Regions from separate parts of the Homo sapiens genome. Here region 1 is linked to region 2. Evidence: promoter capture Hi-C in 16 types of primary human blood cells and fetal thymus (Javierre and others, 2016). All regions are on one chromosome and are shown on one strand. Each heading gives the region's core, a stretch centred on a gene start or on the middle of the fragment in contact. The rest is flanking DNA. Distances are from core to core; before and after follow the strand shown. Region 1 holds the start of SIKE1 (suppressor of IKBKE 1). Region 2 holds the start of MAGI3 (membrane associated guanylate kinase, WW and PDZ domain containing 3).

Region 1 (4,975 bases), core at 1,201-3,700, 1.4 Mb before region 2:
TAACTTGCTTAAGAAACAAGATTTTAATGTTTTATCAAATAATTCCCATGCTCTCTTTAATGGGTTTTTAATTGCCTAGAAAAACTGAGATTTAAAAGGGTTCAGGTTTTTATGTCCTGGTAACCTTCTCAATTGCCTTTAAAGTCTTTAATTATCAGTTTGGTTAAATGAGTAACTATTATTTTTACAATGAATATTATCTTGTTTTGATCAAATGTTTTGAGGCTTTTAAAATCTTTGACCAATGTCCTCAAAATCAAAATCGTAAATTAAGTCTCTGACTTATTGCTGGGGTTTATCGAAGCTATAAAAATTAATCACTGCAAGGTTGTAAAATATTTTTACAGCTTCCAGTCAGGTCATAGACTCCGGTATCACACCTCCAGCTCCTTGAAAAGGTCCTTATCAGGTGATATTAACTAATCCTTGTGCTTTTAAGTTATAGGGACTTACACATATCTCATCCAAAGAAGGCATCAACTCCTGCCAGTATCTGACACTAAACTGCAATTAACCAAAGCCTCATCGTTAGACTCAGGCAAAGGCGACAAAGTAAACTGCTTTCATGAGACACAGGGACAGTCTTGTGTTCAAAAATATTAAGATTCATTTAACAATTCTGCCTCTATCTGAATTAATATAATTTATTCTGTGCCTTGATACTAAATAATTTAAGTGTTTAGCTACCTATGAACTTCTTTTCCTGTTATTCTCAAAACTAGGCAGGGTTTATGACCTTTGTGTTTGAAATGTTGTTAATTCTTTCTGTTTTGTTTTACCTACAAAAGTTGAAACTCTTCAATCCCGCCATGCCTAGAGACTATAACGTAATGTTGTAAGGGCCAGTATTGAGAGCTAAAATTAGTTCAGACCCTACAAATCAAGGATGACACAGATGCCAAAACAGCTAAACAAAATGCTTGCATTTTGTATAGCTAATTGCAACAAGCCAAGATTACAGCAGCTCAATGCATAGAATTTATAGATAAGTCAATTTTGTAACCCTTGCCTTTTGGTTTTTGCCTCTTAACATTGCTTAAGAGGGGTTTTAAGGTTAATGAGTGCCTGCCCACCTCCTTCCCATCTGACCTAGAACGTTTAATTGGCTGTAACTCTTTTGACTCTAAGTCAGTTGGCCGCAGGAGGGACATGATGGACTCAGGGCAGGTAGCACACCACCCTGGCATTGATATGGGACAAAATTAAAGTTTGGACACTGATACTGTCTCTGGGATACCTTGACCAAAAAAAAAAAAAAAGTGGAATGCTGTTTTGAAGGCATGAGCCTAGCCATTCCCCATCTGCGAGCATTTGATTAGTAAAGCTTTCACCACAGGTCACTTCTCATGTTTTTGGCCTCTAGGCAGCAAGCAGCCAGACGTGAGCCAGTTGCAATAGCAGCATTATTGACAATAGCAAAAGGTGGAAGCAACCCAACTGTCCATCCACGGATGAATGGATAAACAAAACGTGGTATATATATATTATTCAGCCTTAAAAAGGAAGGAAATTCTAACATATGCTACTATATGGATGAAACTCGTGGACATTACACTAAGTGAAATAAGGCAGTTATATAAATACAAATGCTGTATGATTTCACTCATGTCAGGTACCCAGAATAGTCAGATTTGTAGAGACACAAAGTAGAATGGTGGCTGCCAGGAGCTGGGGATAAGGAAGAATGAGGAATTATTGTTTAATGAGTACAGAACTTCAGTACTGCAAGATGAAAGAGTTCTAGAGATGGATGCTGATGGTGGCTGTATAACAATATGAATGTACAACTGAACTGTACACTTATAAATGGCTGAGATATTAAATTTTATGTGTATTTTGCCACAATTTAAAAAAAATTAAATGAAAGTAGGCCAGGCGCGGGGGCTCACACCTGTAATCCCAGCACTTTGGGAGGCCGAGGCGGGCGGATCACTTGAGGTCAGGAGTTCGAAACCGGCCTGGCCAACATGTGAAACCCCGTTTCTACTAAAAATAGAAAAATCAGCCGGCGTGGTGGCGCATGCCTGTAATCCCAGCTACTCGAGAGGCTGAGGCAGGAGAATCGCTTGAACCCTGGAGGCAGAGGTTGCAATGAGCCAAGATCGCGCCACTGCACTCCAGCCTGGACAAGAGCAAGATTCCGTCTCAAAAAAGAAAAAAATAATGAAAATAAAAAGAAACTAACTGTGACTGAAGAACAACCCACATCAATGAAAACCAGTAGGGAAAGGAGACCTTCCCACTGCCCAGCTAATCATAGCCTGACCACCAGGCTGTGGTAACTGGAAACCAACGGCGTGGCAAGTGTAGGTCTGGGGCTCCGCGCAAGGAAGGACTGCAAGGAAGCCGCAGGTTAAAGCGGGTCAACCCGCAAAATAGGCTGCCACTGCGCAGGCGCCCATTGCGCCTACCAAGACACCTTGTAAACGTGCCCGGAAATGACGCCTGTAATGCTGAGACAGACTCCCAGAAGATCTGAGCGAGTCGCGTAGCTGAGCCCGGCAGGGGCTGGGGTGGTGCTGCTGCTATGAGCTGCACCATCGAGAAGATCCTGACAGACGCCAAGACGCTGCTGGAGAGGCTACGGGAGCACGATGCGGCCGCCGAGTCGCTGGTGGATCAGTCGGCGGCGCTGCACCGGCGGGTAGCAGCTATGCGGGAGGCGGGGACAGCGCTTCCGGACCAGGTCAGGCAGAGGGTAGGAGTCCAGTGCTCTCGGATTCTGGGCACTGAAGGGTGGAGAGCGAGGTAAAGTGGGAACTCGGCCTGGAATTTATTCCCGGTCTCAGAGGGCGGCGGTGAGACCATTTTCCTGGGTCGGGGCTGAGAATCCTGCCCTGGAGCCCTAACTTCTGCCTCTTCAGTTGCATCTGCCGCTGTTCTCTTTAAGGCATGCTTAGTCTGTCTCTATTTGTCCAGTATCAAGAGGATGCATCCGATATGAAGGACATGTCCAAATACAAACCTCACATTCTGCTGTCCCAAGAGAACACACAGATTAGAGACTTGCAACAGGAAAACAGAGGTTAGTCAGGCCTTTTCATATCTGGTAATAGTTTAAAGTTATTGCAAAATTGCCCTAAACATTTACAAAAGTGTACATATATTTCCAGGTCAGTACTTTTAGTAGGAGAGTCCTCCTGATCTGGCCCAGTAACAATAAAGTTTGTTAGATTACCCTTTTCAAGGTCATCTGACTAATATTGCAGCAGCTTACCAAAGAGGTGCTGTGTAGAGTTGGTATTATTGCATGGTTTATTTTTAAGCATCCTCAGATGTGTAACAAAAGAGTTCATAGCCTCATGGACTTAAAATTTAATGTTTAAGTATTAATATAAACACTGAAGGTAAGATTTAAGGTTTTGTTTATGTTCTTGTTTGTGCAAGGTGAAGCAGCAGAATTTTATTCTAAGGGTATATATTCTTAGGCTTGATTAGTACATTATTAATGATTGTGGTATTAATAGTTGTTTACCAGAGGGGTTTCACATATATCATTCTACTGTATTCTCATATCTTCATTTTTATCTACCACAATGCAGTTAAGAAATAGGCTCAGAAGAAGCTAAATGATTTACTTATGAGTATTAACCAAGCAAGTTACAGAACTGAACTCAAACACATGTCTTCTGATGATACATCCATTGTTGTTTCTGCAAGACTTTGCTTCTCTGCCTAGAAAGTTACCTTTCACATAGACTTTAACTGTTCAGTTTTGCGGACTTAAACATTGATTTACAACTTTAGATTCATATTATCTATATAGTGTTACAAAATTCCAACTGTTAAGACTTTGGATTTGGGAACTGTCTCTCAGACATCACTGCCAAGTTCTTTTATTTTTTGACAGAGCTATGGATTTCCTTGGAGGAACACCAGGATGCTTTGGAACTTATCATGAGCAAATATCGGAAACAGATGTTACAGTTAATGGTTGCTAAAAAAGCGGTGGATGCTGAACCAGTCCTGAAAGCTCACCAGTCTCACTCTGCAGTAAGAAACTTTGAATAAATTCGAAATGAACCAAATTGAAATCTTGAGATTGTTTTAGATTGTGTGCTTGTTTTTTTGCTTTGTGAGATAGGGTCTGGCTCTTGTCGACCAGGCCGTGGTGTAATGGCACGATCTCGGCTCACTGCAACCTCTGCCTCCTGGGCTCAAGCCATCGTCTCACCTCTGCCTCCGGAGCAGCTGGGACTACAGGTGCACACCACCACGCCCTGTTAATTTTTGTGGGGTTGTTTGTTTGTTTGTTTGTTTGTTTGTTTTTTGGTAGAGATGACATTTCGCCATGTTGCCCAGGCTGGTCTGAAACTCCTGGGCTCAAGCGATCCACCCACGTTAGCCTTCCAAAGTGCTGGGATTATAGGCATGAACCACTGCGCCTGGCCATGTGTGCTTGTTTTTGAAGAAAAGTAAGCTCATTTTCCTTTCATGTTTATCACATTTGTTGTTTATTTTGCCATGGCTTTGTAAAGATATGAATAGAAAGAAGGAGGATAGGGGCTGCTCAGATCCTTTTATTTGAGTGGGACTAAGGTTCCCCCTCCCTCACCAAGATCTCTTTTGAAAATGTTCATTAATTCTTAGCGCTCCCACCAAACATAATGCCAGTTAGTGTTGAAGCTGCCTGGTAAACACTTGGTTGGTTATTACTTATACATTTAACTTAAGCTCCTTGCTTGTAAGGCGCATGAATTCACATTTTATTCCTAACATAGTACCTGACATACAGCAGGCAGTCAGTAAACCTTTTATAAACTGAACCACATAGTATCATACTATGTTGTTAGGGGAGAGAAGTATGGTTTTTTAAAAAAACAAACATGGCATAGTTTCTGTTCTTTGCTAATTTGGGAGACTCAGTAATTGTTCTTATGTTTATAGGTGCTTCATGGTTGTCATTGTACATTCTTGTGTACTGTATCATTTAATTCTAGATGTATAGGGTTGGAGCCTACTACTTCTGTGAGAT
Region 2 (5,005 bases), core at 2,414-4,913:
ATCAAAGCTAAAGACAGTAGCTGCCAGAAAGATGTTAAGTCACCTGGCTGATAGTACTGGCTTTGGGAGGGCGACCCTTAGCACCTAAGTGAAAAGAAGGCTAGGAAGAATCAGTGCTACAAAAGCCATGTTCTACAACCCAGCTCATCCTTCTGCCATGGACTTTGTCAGAAGACAATATGAGAACATTTCCGATTAGTATTACATCTTACAAAAATGGTTAAATTTTACTCTTTCACTGTGCTAGTCTCTAAATGTCATGTTATGAATATGGTTTAATAAAAAGCAACTAGTCAAGACAAGAGAGTGCTAAGTACACTTTACAATACCTTATTAAATTGAAAAATCAATTTCTGTCACAAAGTTTAGATAAAAGCAAAAAATAAAACAATGTTTATGGCAAGTTTCTTTTTAAATTCCCTTACTCTATTTTCATCCTTTCCAAAATGAATCACAATAAAGAATCTTTGTCTCTTCTGAAAATAATATTTGTTTTTAATCAAACTCAAAAGTTCTACAGATAACCTCTTCAAATTCTTAATTTCTAGTATTTAAAGTCTGTTTAACCTGCAAAAATCTTGCTATTTTATAACAAATGTTGCTTTTAAGCAAAGCCATTTAAGAAAGCCATTTAATATAATACCTAACATGAGGCTATTAAGAAGCTAAGAATACTATTTTTAAAAGAGATTAAAAATTTTAAATTACAACCTGCTTAGAAACAATATTAATCTCAAATAACACAGACATAATGGTATCTTGAGAAATTACTGACACAAAGTGTCTCTTCAAAAAACAAGTGTAGTATTCAGAACTTTATTACTAATGACTACAAAATGTTCTGTGGCCATTAATACGTTATTCCCTTTATTTTGGCTAAATCTTTAAAATAGAACAGTGTCTGTGGCTGTCAAGAGGGCAAAACTGTATTACTCTAATAATGTCAACTACATACGGGGGCATAGGATGTTTATTCAACACAGTTAATATTACTAATGCTCTAAATCTTGAATTATTGTTAAATATAATATAGAGGTTGAGAAAAATGTATAACAGGTAGATTAGACTAATGTTATGAAATAGCCATCTCTTCAGTCTTCTAAAAAAGATCACAATAATTTAGAATACACCAGCTTCCATGTCAATATATCAACTTTAAAATTTCTAAAAATAAGTTATATTCTCATCTATGCCCTAACGAATCAAAACAAAACACAAAGAAATGATGCAGATGTTCTCACTATTCACTAACTCATGGGATTTGAACTAAGATTTGGCAGCTAGACTAGTAAATGCTGTCTATATAGCCTTTTGCATATTACAGACAGTGCCTGACTAGCTGAATTACAGCCCCAAAAGTCTTTCCTCTGCCTTTCACACATGGCTGTAAAAGTTAGAGTTAAGAAAAAAATTTACAAATTCTCAAAACTATACAGAAAAAGCTGTTTAAAGTCTGCCAAAGTTTTAAAAAATTAACAACAATAAAAAGAAAACCTCACCACATAAACCCATACACTTAAAATGAATACGATGGAATACGCTATAGAAAGAAAATCTTAATTATGACCTTAGGAGCATGTGAGTCTGTGTGTATACATATCCACAATACACAGACATATGTAAACTGCACCACAAACCATCAAGCCCCATTAAGCTCAAGGACTATTAAAGATATATTAATATTTCCAAAGCGAGCTGCTGAGAAAGAAATGAGAAGGAGATAACATATTAAATTTTTATCCAGAATTTTCTAGCATTTTGCCATCAAGGGATGGACTGCTACCTAGCCCAGGTAACAATTAACCAGCCCATTATATTTTGATGCACCGTATACTCAGCAGAGCACATTAAGGAAAAACAGTTTGGTTTCTAATAATGTTACAATCACAATTCTCTCTCCCACAAACATCTAAGACGACAGAACCACATTCTATCTATGCTGAAACAAAACCAACAATGCTGTCTATAACAAATTCATAAGAACTACTACATACTATCAGATCTCACTGTATGCTGTCTCTGATCAATGCTTTGAAACTGACGAGTATGCCATAAACATAACGTGCTTTGCAGCAATTTTTACTAGCATAAAAGATACCAGGGCAACAGAGGCTCCTTTAACCTACCACTTCAACAAAATTCTGTAAAATCAAAAGCGTTACAGAAGCTTTCACTCCGCTAGGCACCTAGGTCTTCCTGCAAAACCCAGACTCTATTCAACAGCTCCCTGCAAGAACACACCAGTCTGCCACATATCACATATTGTACCGTCATCGGTACTCAGACACCTGAACCACCTGGACTGACAGAGTTAGGCTGTCAGCTCTGAGATGTCTGCTAGAGTGCAAGAAACACTGAAGCAGCTAAGCCCTTCCAGGTACACCAGGTGGTAACCTTGGCACCAAGTGCCTCTATAGTAAAGTCCCTTTTTCCCTGTTAGAAGATGCGTAAGATCGTTCCAAAGAAAATGTTACAATCCTAAGGGCCTTTTTGCACAACACAGGAAAAGGCTGGCCTTCTCTAGTCAAAAACTCTTGTCTGCGGGGGGAGATGGAGCTACAAATGTAGGAAACCCAGCTTCTAGTCGCAATTCTGTGACAGCTAGCACAGCTAGCAGAGCAACCGCGCCAAGCCAGAGCTCAGTTTTCCCTTCGGCAAAATGGGACTCACCAACGCCACCCCTCCCCCTCGTCAAGGAGTCTGGCACACCCTAGAGGTCTAAGATTACCCGGGACAATACGCGGTGGGGAGGTGCCGCCGCTCCCAGGACGCCCACCCTGAAGCCCCTCTCCCCAACACCCCGAGACAGATACGCAGGGCCGGCGTACCTGGTTTCACAGTCTTGAGACGGATGGGCTCGCGGAAGTGGCGGATGACAGCCAGGGTGTCCCGGTTGGTGAGCCCGCTGACAGGCGTCCCGTTTACCTCCAGCAGCACATCGCCTGGGCTGGGCGCCTTGCCCGAGACGACGCAGCAGGTGCCCCCGCCGGGCTCCTCGCGGAGCCGCCCCAGGTAGGGGAACTCGCCACGCTCCGCGCCACCGCGGATCTCCGCGCCGAAGTCGCCCGGGGGCCCGGCCCAGGACACGGCGCACTCCTGCACCTTGCTGAGCCAGTGCTTCTTCTTCTTCAGCGTCTTCGACATCCCGAACCCCGCTGCACCATGGGGGAGACCCCGCGCGGGCGGCCGGGGCGCCGCTCCGGCCCCGTCTCAGCCCGGGGGCCCTGGGCGGCCCGCGCAGCCCGGTAAGGGGGGCCTCGCCGCTCCGGCCCCCACCCCGCGACCACAGCCCGCTGGGGGCCCGGCCGTTCCCAGACGCGAGACGCCCCTTGGACGCCCCTCCCGGCTGCGCTCCCCGGGGCTGACCGGACTCCGCGAGGGCCACCGCGGGTTAGGCTGAAGAAAGGAAAAGGGAATTGTCCCCAGGAGGTTCCAGAAGGGGCTTCGGGCGGGGTCACTGCCGCCGGCTGGTCCCTGGGCTCAGCGCCCGAGCGGCGGGAAAGGCTGAGGCGGGGGGGCGGGGAGGTGAAGGGGGAAGAGCCGGGAACGGGAAAAATCCGTGGGGGGCGCGCAGAAGCGCGCGTAGACCCGTCGCGGGATCGATCGTGGCCGCTGCGGAGCTGTAGCGCGGAGACCAACGCCTGCCCAAGCTGCCAGGAAACTGCCGCTTTCAAACCAGCCGCAACCTCCTCCTCCTCCCTTTTCCCTTCCCCCGGCCCTCGCCCATCCCTCATCCAGAGCCCCGCCCCCTCCCGCCGCGCGGCGCCCGGCGCGCTGCCGTCACAGGCTGGGCGCTTGGGAACGAGCCCCGGCCCTGGACTCTCGCGCCAGGGATTGGCCCCCGGCGGGCAGGAGGCGGACCGCCAACGAGAATGGGGACCACTGGTTGGTCGGTGCGAGTGGAGGAGGCGGGCACTAGAATGACTGAAGTTTAGAGAGGGTGGAAAAAAGAAGTTTGGAGAGTGAGGGAGGGCGCAGAGGAGGGGCAGGGGAGTGGAAGGGGCTGTAGGTCGCAGGGCCGGGAGAGGCCCTCTGCGCGGCGGCTGGAGCCGAGGAAAACTCGAATCCGAGAGGGACCGAGCTCCCCGAAGTGGGGGCGTGGCCGGCGAGTTAGGCGGAGACGCGGGCGGAGCCTCTGAGCCTGTGCGGGGCGCAGAGAGGGGCCGGTGTGCTTAGATTGGAAGACAACGTGCGGAGTCCTGAGCCGGCCGAGGTTCCGGGGCCTTTAGGGTGGCCTGTTACAGCCGATAGTTTGCATTGAGTGGATATTGCTTGTTCATTCGTTCATTCAACAGATGTTACTGAACGCCCATTGAGGCAGGGCTTCGGAGTCCGGTTGATGAAAGATATTATAAAATAGAGTCCGGCACTGCTGTATGACCTAAGACAAATTAGACAACCTCTCTGAGCCGCAGCGTCCTCAGTGAAAAGTGAAGATTACAGAAGATGTACAAAATAACTGCATAGTGCCTGACAGTGGGTGGTTGCCTCTTAAAGTTTGGTAGCTGCTGCTGCTGCTGCTGATGACGATGACGATTTTGTGTTAGATATTGTGCTAGGTACTGGGATTCAAGGGTGAAGAAAACAGAAGCCCCGCTATTGAGGAGGTTACAGTCTAGTGGGAGAGACTGAGAAGTAAGCAGACTGCCTGAGGTGAGGGAGTGGGGTGGAGGTAGAAGGTGGATTATTAAGAACTAACCTGGTAGCCAGCAGATCTGGTTGGAGTCCTGACATGCTACTTACTTGCTGTTTGACCTTGGCCAAATCTCAGTTAAAGGAGGTGAAGGGAGAACGAACATTAAATAAAAGATATCGTAGATCCCTTCCAGCTCTAATTTTTCAGAAATTTCACTTGAGCTTTCTCTCTTCCCCGGCTTGACTTACACTCTTCCCTGTCTTTGGAATGCCCTTCATCTCATCTCTTTTAAAACTCCTATCCGTCCTCATCCCAAATGCCGGCTCTTCCAGGTAGCTTTCTCTGATTTCTTGCCCTCAAGTGGAAAGT

What was found. The method cuts DNA at HindIII sites, captures the fragments that hold promoters and counts their contacts. A CHiCAGO score of 5 or more calls a contact.
Region 1: a contact is called between the fragment with the promoter of SIKE1 here and the fragment with the promoter of MAGI3 in region 2, in 1 of 17 cell types (total B cells). The highest score is 5.5, in total B cells.

The regions. Positions count from the first base shown.
Region 1 is chr1:114,778,160-114,783,134 of GRCh38, reverse strand. It overlaps SIKE1 (suppressor of IKBKE 1), which reads left to right and starts at 2,450. Exons shown (of 5, transcript NM_025073.3): 1 at 2,450-2,686; 2 at 2,920-3,025; 3 at 3,851-3,993. The coding sequence starts at 2,528. RefSeq lists enhancers at 2,068-2,187, 2,428-2,667, 2,132-2,697, 2,698-3,264. The HindIII fragment of the contact is 3,666 bases long and covers 1,327-4,975 here.
Region 2 is chr1:113,389,173-113,394,177 of GRCh38, reverse strand. MAGI3 (membrane associated guanylate kinase, WW and PDZ domain containing 3) reads right to left here and starts at 3,663. Exons shown (of 21, transcript NM_001142782.2): 1 at 2,829-3,663. The coding sequence starts at 3,144. RefSeq lists enhancers at 2,618-2,667, 2,718-3,217 and silencers at 2,898-3,057, 3,118-3,247, 3,658-4,017, 4,048-4,097. The HindIII fragment of the contact is 2,966 bases long and covers 2,170-5,005 here.